2 separate regions of the Homo sapiens genome follow, and region 1 is linked to region 2. Evidence: promoter capture Hi-C in 16 types of primary human blood cells and fetal thymus (Javierre and others, 2016). All regions are on one chromosome and are shown on one strand. Each heading gives the region's core, a stretch centred on a gene start or on the middle of the fragment in contact. The rest is flanking DNA. Distances are from core to core; before and after follow the strand shown.

The links. The method cuts DNA at HindIII sites, captures the fragments that hold promoters and counts their contacts. A CHiCAGO score of 5 or more calls a contact.
Region 1: a fragment that was not itself captured here is called in contact with the fragment with the promoter of ELOVL4 in region 2 in 1 of 17 cell types (neutrophils); the score reaches 5.4 in neutrophils.

What each region holds. Positions count from the first base shown.
Region 1 is chr6:81,637,487-81,640,718 of GRCh38, forward strand. No RefSeq gene overlaps it. Among named protein-coding and RNA genes, the nearest start is that of TENT5A, 110 kb to the right of the region's middle. The HindIII fragment of the contact is 845 bases long and covers 1,004-1,848 here.
Region 2 is chr6:79,945,820-79,949,048 of GRCh38, forward strand. ELOVL4 (ELOVL fatty acid elongase 4) reads right to left here and starts at 1,734. Exons shown (of 6, transcript NM_022726.4): 1 at 1,361-1,734. The coding sequence starts at 1,460. LOC124901350 reads right to left here. Exons shown (of 2, transcript XM_047419628.1): 2 at 1,568-2,192. The coding sequence starts at 1,996. The coding sequence ends at 1,568. LOC124901351 (a long non-coding RNA gene) reads left to right here and starts at 1,986. Exons shown (of 3, transcript XR_007059656.1): 1 at 1,986-2,108. RefSeq lists a silencer at 1,794-1,843. The HindIII fragment of the contact is 8,446 bases long and covers 1-3,229 here.

The DNA of each region.
Region 1 (3,232 bases), core at 176-2,675, 1.7 Mb after region 2:
TTATAATGACTTGCAATAACTTTGTTAATATTACTTGTAAATATAGTAACAGATTGCCCTAAAAAATTAGCTGCTTAAACAATGCTCATGTTGCATTTTGAGGTGTTTCATGAGTCACAAATTGGTGAGAGGAGACCACACATAGGTAAACACACAGGCAACCCCTACCTCCCACCATGTGTACACATTAGATGAAGTTTCCAATTTATTTAATTGAAGACATGAAGGCTTGTCAGAGTCAGGTGGCTCCACCTGCAAAGGCAGATGTTGCAAATCTCTACACACTTTCCTTTGCCCCTATTGCTTCTGAAGGGGGCAAGCAATTGTTATTTATATTTTCTATCAGAATACTGTCATATCTTTCCCTGTTATATTTGCACTTACACCACCATCTTGGAAGAACTTTTGCATTAACAGTTATATTATTTTGTTTACAACATCAACTCCCACATCCAATTCTTGAACTAAATTCGGCATCAGAAAGGCATAACTTGGGGAGAAAGTAAGATCACTGCACAATGTGTCTGAATAATACCTTTACCTAGGCTTTCCACAATTCTCAAAAACCTATTATTTCATACAATTATAAAAGTAACTTAATTCACATGATTTTCCTAAGGAATTAAATCTTCTTCTTTGAATATTATGTTGTCTAGTAATTTCTTAATTCAACCATTCTTTTTAGTAGCTCCTGGAAAGTATAGACAAAAGAAATCTTAGTGTTCTATATAATTATGATACTAGACAAAGAAATCCTAAGAAAGAAAGAATTTGATAAAGAGCTTTAAAAAGGAAACATAAAAGAAATAGGAAAGAGTTTTGGCTTTAATGACAAAAAAGAAAAAAACCAAAAGGTCTATTTTATAATATCTTGAGGTTTTGACAAAGAGTCTCTGCTTGATGAAAATTTATCAACCTTCTGAATCTTCTCCTAAGTTCATCTGCGCATTTCCTTGTTAAATCTAGTTTTAGCAGAGAGCCTTGCTAAGTCAGTTTAACAAGAAGCTTCACCCTTGATATTTGGCTCCTTATCCTCTGCCTGCCCTGCAGTGATGACTGATCGCCTGGGGTGTCTACAGCGAGAATCTTGTTAGGTTGGTCTAGCCAGAATCCCTCTCACCCCTGATGTTTCCTCTTAGTAATTTTCCATCCACTGACTCCCACCCTGCTCCTTGGCTATAAATTCCCACTTGCTCATGCTGTATTCAGAGTTGAGCTCACTCACTCTCCCAACTGCAAAACTCTACTGCCAAGGTACCTGTACCTATTGCGATGGTCATGAATAAAGTCAGCCTTATGATGTAACACACGTCAGTGAATAACTATTTCTTTAACAGTTAGTACAAACATAAGAGTAATTAAAATCTGCCTAACGACAGCCATCATTCCAAAAATTTTCAGAAGAAAATTCTGACTTTGTTTAAAAAAAAGGTAAAAAGAATAAGTTAGATGACTACCTTCAGACACTCTTAATGGCAATAAGCGACTCTAAAAGAACCCAAGCCCAGTTCTAACACAGAGAAGAAACTAGAGCATTAGAGTATTTATTAAGGAGGTTAGGCAAGAGATTTATGTGTCAGCTGTGGTTTTAGAACTTACAATTTTCTTTTTATGGTATAGAAGTTAATTCATTTATTAAGTATTTATTGAATACCTTCTCTGTGCCAGACACTGTTATGACTTTGCTTTATTCAAACAAAAATAGAAAAATATCCCAGTTCTAAGGAGCTCTTTAAAATGCTATTTTATTATTCCATTCGATTTTAATCCTAGCAATTCCCGCCTTGAGGAATGATTAGACAAACTTGTACCCATTTTGAAAAAAAATTTAAGTTATAAGGAAAAGTAAGCTTTAAACAAAACATGATATTATATTGATTATTGTTATTTTTACACTTCATTCAATAGCTTAAAATTCTAACAAAAATTAAATCTAACTAATCCAACACGATACTTTAGACTAAAAGCCATCATGTCTGCCAAAGTATTTACTCCAAATTCTATACATATTAACACTTCTCTCTCTCTCTCTTTCCTCTCTCTCTCTTTCCTCTCTCTCTCTCTGTGTGTGTGTGTGTGTATATACATACGTGTATATATGGTTTTAAATATACACGTGTATATATAGTTATAAATATACACATATATATGGTTATAAATATACATGTGTATATATATATGTATACTGTAGAAATTATGGCTTTTATAATGAGCAGCAGAATTATCGGTGATGAGAGAGGAAATCCAACCCATCACAGTACAAATGAATCAAGGACATAATAATGAATAATATCCAAAAGGGAAAGCAGTAAAGAACATAATGTCTGGAATGCAAAACTTTTACCACACTTTTATTTGACCTTAAGTAGCGTTCAGTACATAGAGTCAAAATATGTGTCCCAAAGAACATTAGGGCTGCAGAATATAAAAGGATGCCAAGCACAAACATGAAATAAATAAATAAATAAGCTAGTCATGGAGCGATGATTTTCATAGCAATATATAGGCTAATGAAACACTGTTTAATATAAGATTTCTCAAGATCTTTTGTTTTCTAATTAGATAGTATGACTTTCCAGGAAGAGCATATAATTTTTCAGTATTTATGAAATGTGCTTGACCATGGAAACATTTTCATGAAGAATTACTTTGCCAAAGTTTCCAAGAAACAGATTAAGGTGTTGGGAGCCTAAAAGAAATCATGTATACAAAGCATCCATTACGGTGCCTGGCACAGAGCAGACGCTCACTGAAAGGTATTAGTAGCTGTGGGAACAGTCATGGAATTCTTGTTGCTGTTATCACTGCGCAAGGAAAGCCATAGTTTTATGATGGCTGGCTCATACTCTAAACACATGTAAAGTGCTTCTGAAAATAGAAGAGGAGAGACAGAAGGGTTCTAGCAGACATATGTGCCACAACTTGTTAGGCATGCAAATGCATTATCATTGAATTCTTACAACCGTGGTAGAAGGTAGTCTTATTATGTCAGTTTTACAGGTGATGAGACTGAGGTTCACAGTATGCTAACAGTTCCACAGTAAGTAAATGATAGGTCTATCTGAATTCAGAATTAACTAAAGTTACTCTTCTTTGTCAAATAACATTAATTTTTTCAATAGACTCTTGATTTTATACTAGAGTTTATTGTTGTTTGCTTGTTTTATTTGTACTTGCCTTATAGTTTACTAAATAGAGTAGTGCTCTGGAAAATAAAGCAGAGCTGAGGGTA
Region 2 (3,229 bases), core at 484-2,983:
CTCCATTGAAAACTGCCTTTTAACCATTTTCAGCTGTAATGGCTTATTAAATAGCTTATTTCCCAGTGTCAAAGTTGAGATCTTCTGAAAAAGAACATACTTTTCTAAAGAAGTGAATGCAGTATTAATGCCAAATAATCATTTTGTCTCTCACAAAAATAATTCCAGCATACGTTTTTCCCAAAACATAAGCCCTATGTATCGGACTACATTCATGCTGTAACCACTGTCTAATTTCCTCTAACAACAATGAACACAAAAACTACAGGAGTACATTTTCATTTCGAAGTAGGGAAGGCAGAGTCATAAGATGGAACGTTAATATCCTTCACTGATAGGATGCAGTGTGATACTGCAAAAGGACCAGAAAAATTGACCTCGTAAAATCATTTCTGAAATCCTTTAAACCTTATTTTAGATTTCAAAGACTTTTAAATGCTTTAAAATCAAAAGCAGCGAAGCAAATGAAGAAATAAACAGTACAATGTAAAAATATAATATCACAGTTGGACGCTAGGAAAGCTGCATAAATCAAACAATTGACAGCCCTGCCAAATTAACTGCAACAGCTAAAGAAAAGTTTGCTGATTTAAGAACTGTATATATGTAGGCATCTGGGACAACCTCTAGGTGTTGCTGTAGAGACCCCCTTCCTAAAGACTGATTTCTTCCCCGGTGTTTTGGCCTCCCCCTCCCCCTGACTGCACTGCAGTGCGCAAAGCCATTATAGACAATCACTTCAAACATATTTGCTGTTGAAAATGCCTCGGAAACTAACATTCTTCAAGGTTCAAGGAGCCAAACAATATTATTTTACTTTTCAGTCCGAATTATACTATAGATGAAGGAGCTAGATAGAAGAAAAGATTAGCAGGGTTCTGTCAAAGCGACCAGGAGGCTGAAGAAACCTCCTGTACCTTCAGCTGCCCCTGAAGCCCTCCTTCCTCCCCAGCCCGCTCTCCATACAAAATAGGACTAAATGTTAAAAGGAATCCTGTGCACGGGGAAGAGGGAGGCGAGCTCGGGAGATGTGGGAGCACAGGGTGGGGCGGCTCCTGCGAGGAGCTCCTGGCTGCACAGGCTCCATCTGATATGTCAGCTCCCGCATCCGAGAGCTGATGAGAGATGGAGGGAGCTCAGAAGAAAACCCTGCGAGTGTCGGGGGAGGGGAGGCCTTAACATTCGGATCAGATTAACCAGTGCTCAACCGCAGTGCCCGCGCCGGCCCCTCCGCTGATCCGCAGCATCCGAAAGCCGCAGGGCGCGGGGGCCTGTGGGGCCGGGCCCGGGAGCTGCGAGACCAGGGGCCGGTGACCCCCCGCGGGGGACCGAGCGAGGATGGGGAAGTCAGCGGCTTTACCTGCGATGGACCAGGTCCAGCGGTAGAACTCTACCGTGTCGTTGAGTGCCGTGGACACTACGTTTAGGACACTACCCGGCTCCGAGTCCAGGAGCCCCATCGCGGCGATGAGCGGGCGCTGGCGGCAGGAGAAAGCGGAGACCCAGAGAGAGGGCTGACCCCGGAGGCGGTGGCGGCCGACGGGGCGAGCGGCGGCCGGGAACCCCTCTAACGGCGGCGGCCCGGCTGCGTCTTCTCCTGCTCCTCAAGGCGCCGCGGCGGCGGGGATGCGGCAGAAGGCAGGGCCAAGCGGAAGGCGTCGTCAAGGTTCCCGGGAGAAAGACGAGGAGGTGGAGGAGGCCCAGCCGCCAGCACAGTGCGCTGCACCAGTCTGCAGCCTCGCGCAGCCGCCCCTCCAATCTCCTCAGCCGGCGTCACGTGGCCGCGCGCGGGGGCGGGGGGCCGGCCGCCCCTCCTCCCTCCCTCCCTCCCTAGTATTGGGACTCGCTGGCGTAGGGATGCTGCGCTCAAGGGTGCGACGCCAACTGGGCTCGCGCAGGCGCGCGCCGTCGAGCGGGAGCGGGACACCTGGGCTCCTCCTTGGCCCCTCCCCGCACAAGTCGCCTCATTAGCCTTCCCCGCCCCTGTCCCGGGCATCGGCCCCTGCGGAGGAGTTCACCGCCTCCCCACGGGTGATTTCTTATCCGCCCCGGATACGTCCTGGGAAACAGGACACGGGAAGAATGGGTGTTCTGTGGGCAAAGATGAGGTAGGCGTGGTGCTTTGGTCCTTACCTGACACTCACCTCGATTTCACTTGTGTTCCTGTTTCTTTGACCTCCACCAGCACATGCCTGTCACCATGACAAGAGAAGTGCATGTGTTATGCCTCTGAAGAAGTGAAGGGTATTTGTCTTCCATGCTTCAGCGATGGAGAATAGACTTTGGGGTCGACCCATGAACAAATCAACATATAATTGCATGAATGCTTGCATGTGTTTTGTAGACTCTTTTACTATACATGGAATGAACAAAGCAATATAATTGTGCTAAATTAGGCCATTAGTAGTTCAGAGAAGAGGGAGAACCGAGAGGGGCTTACAGGTGAAGTCCGCTTGAACCTGAAGAAGTTGAGGTGAATCTGAAAAAGATAATCGCTCAAGAGGCAAAGGGCAATTTAGTGTAGAGAGGAAAACAAAGTAATTGTGGCTATTTTGAAAAATTGTTTAGATAAGGTATAGGAGAGCCTACCCTTGAAAAGTAAAAAAAATACAGTACTTGGAATTCATAATTTGATGGTTTCTCACATAAAACAAGATTTTTGAGAATAGTCCTTTCATCTACTTGTTTTTTAAATGTGTCACCTACTTGTTTAACCTTTTCTCCACTTGCTCATTTTGGATGCTACATTTTAAAGACCAGTGAGTCAAGTGTCTTATTGTTCCTGCCCTTTCACACTGTTAATGTGAATACTATCTTTTATCATACTGAAATGATCTATTTCCCAATTGACCTGGTTATATATTGTCTATATTTTATATTGGAAGCATCCTAGATGGTAAGAATTATTTTTGGTTGCTTGATGAGTACCTAACCCAGTGCTATAAACAGTAATTAATAAATATTTATGATGACAAAAATATAACATGTCTTTCAGAGAATAATAAGGATTATTGTGAGTGGCAGGAACTTTATTGCCGAACTAAAGCAAACACAGACTTCTTTAAATGCCCTATTCTTGAAATTAACCAAATAAAATGTTAATTTATTAATTTGTCAAATATATTTGCAAATCTAAAGTTTTCTGGATTGGAATGACAATTTCTCAAGTCTCAATCCTAAATTATGTGTAACAGATTCTAGTAGCTATATAAAAAAAAGAAATCCAGTC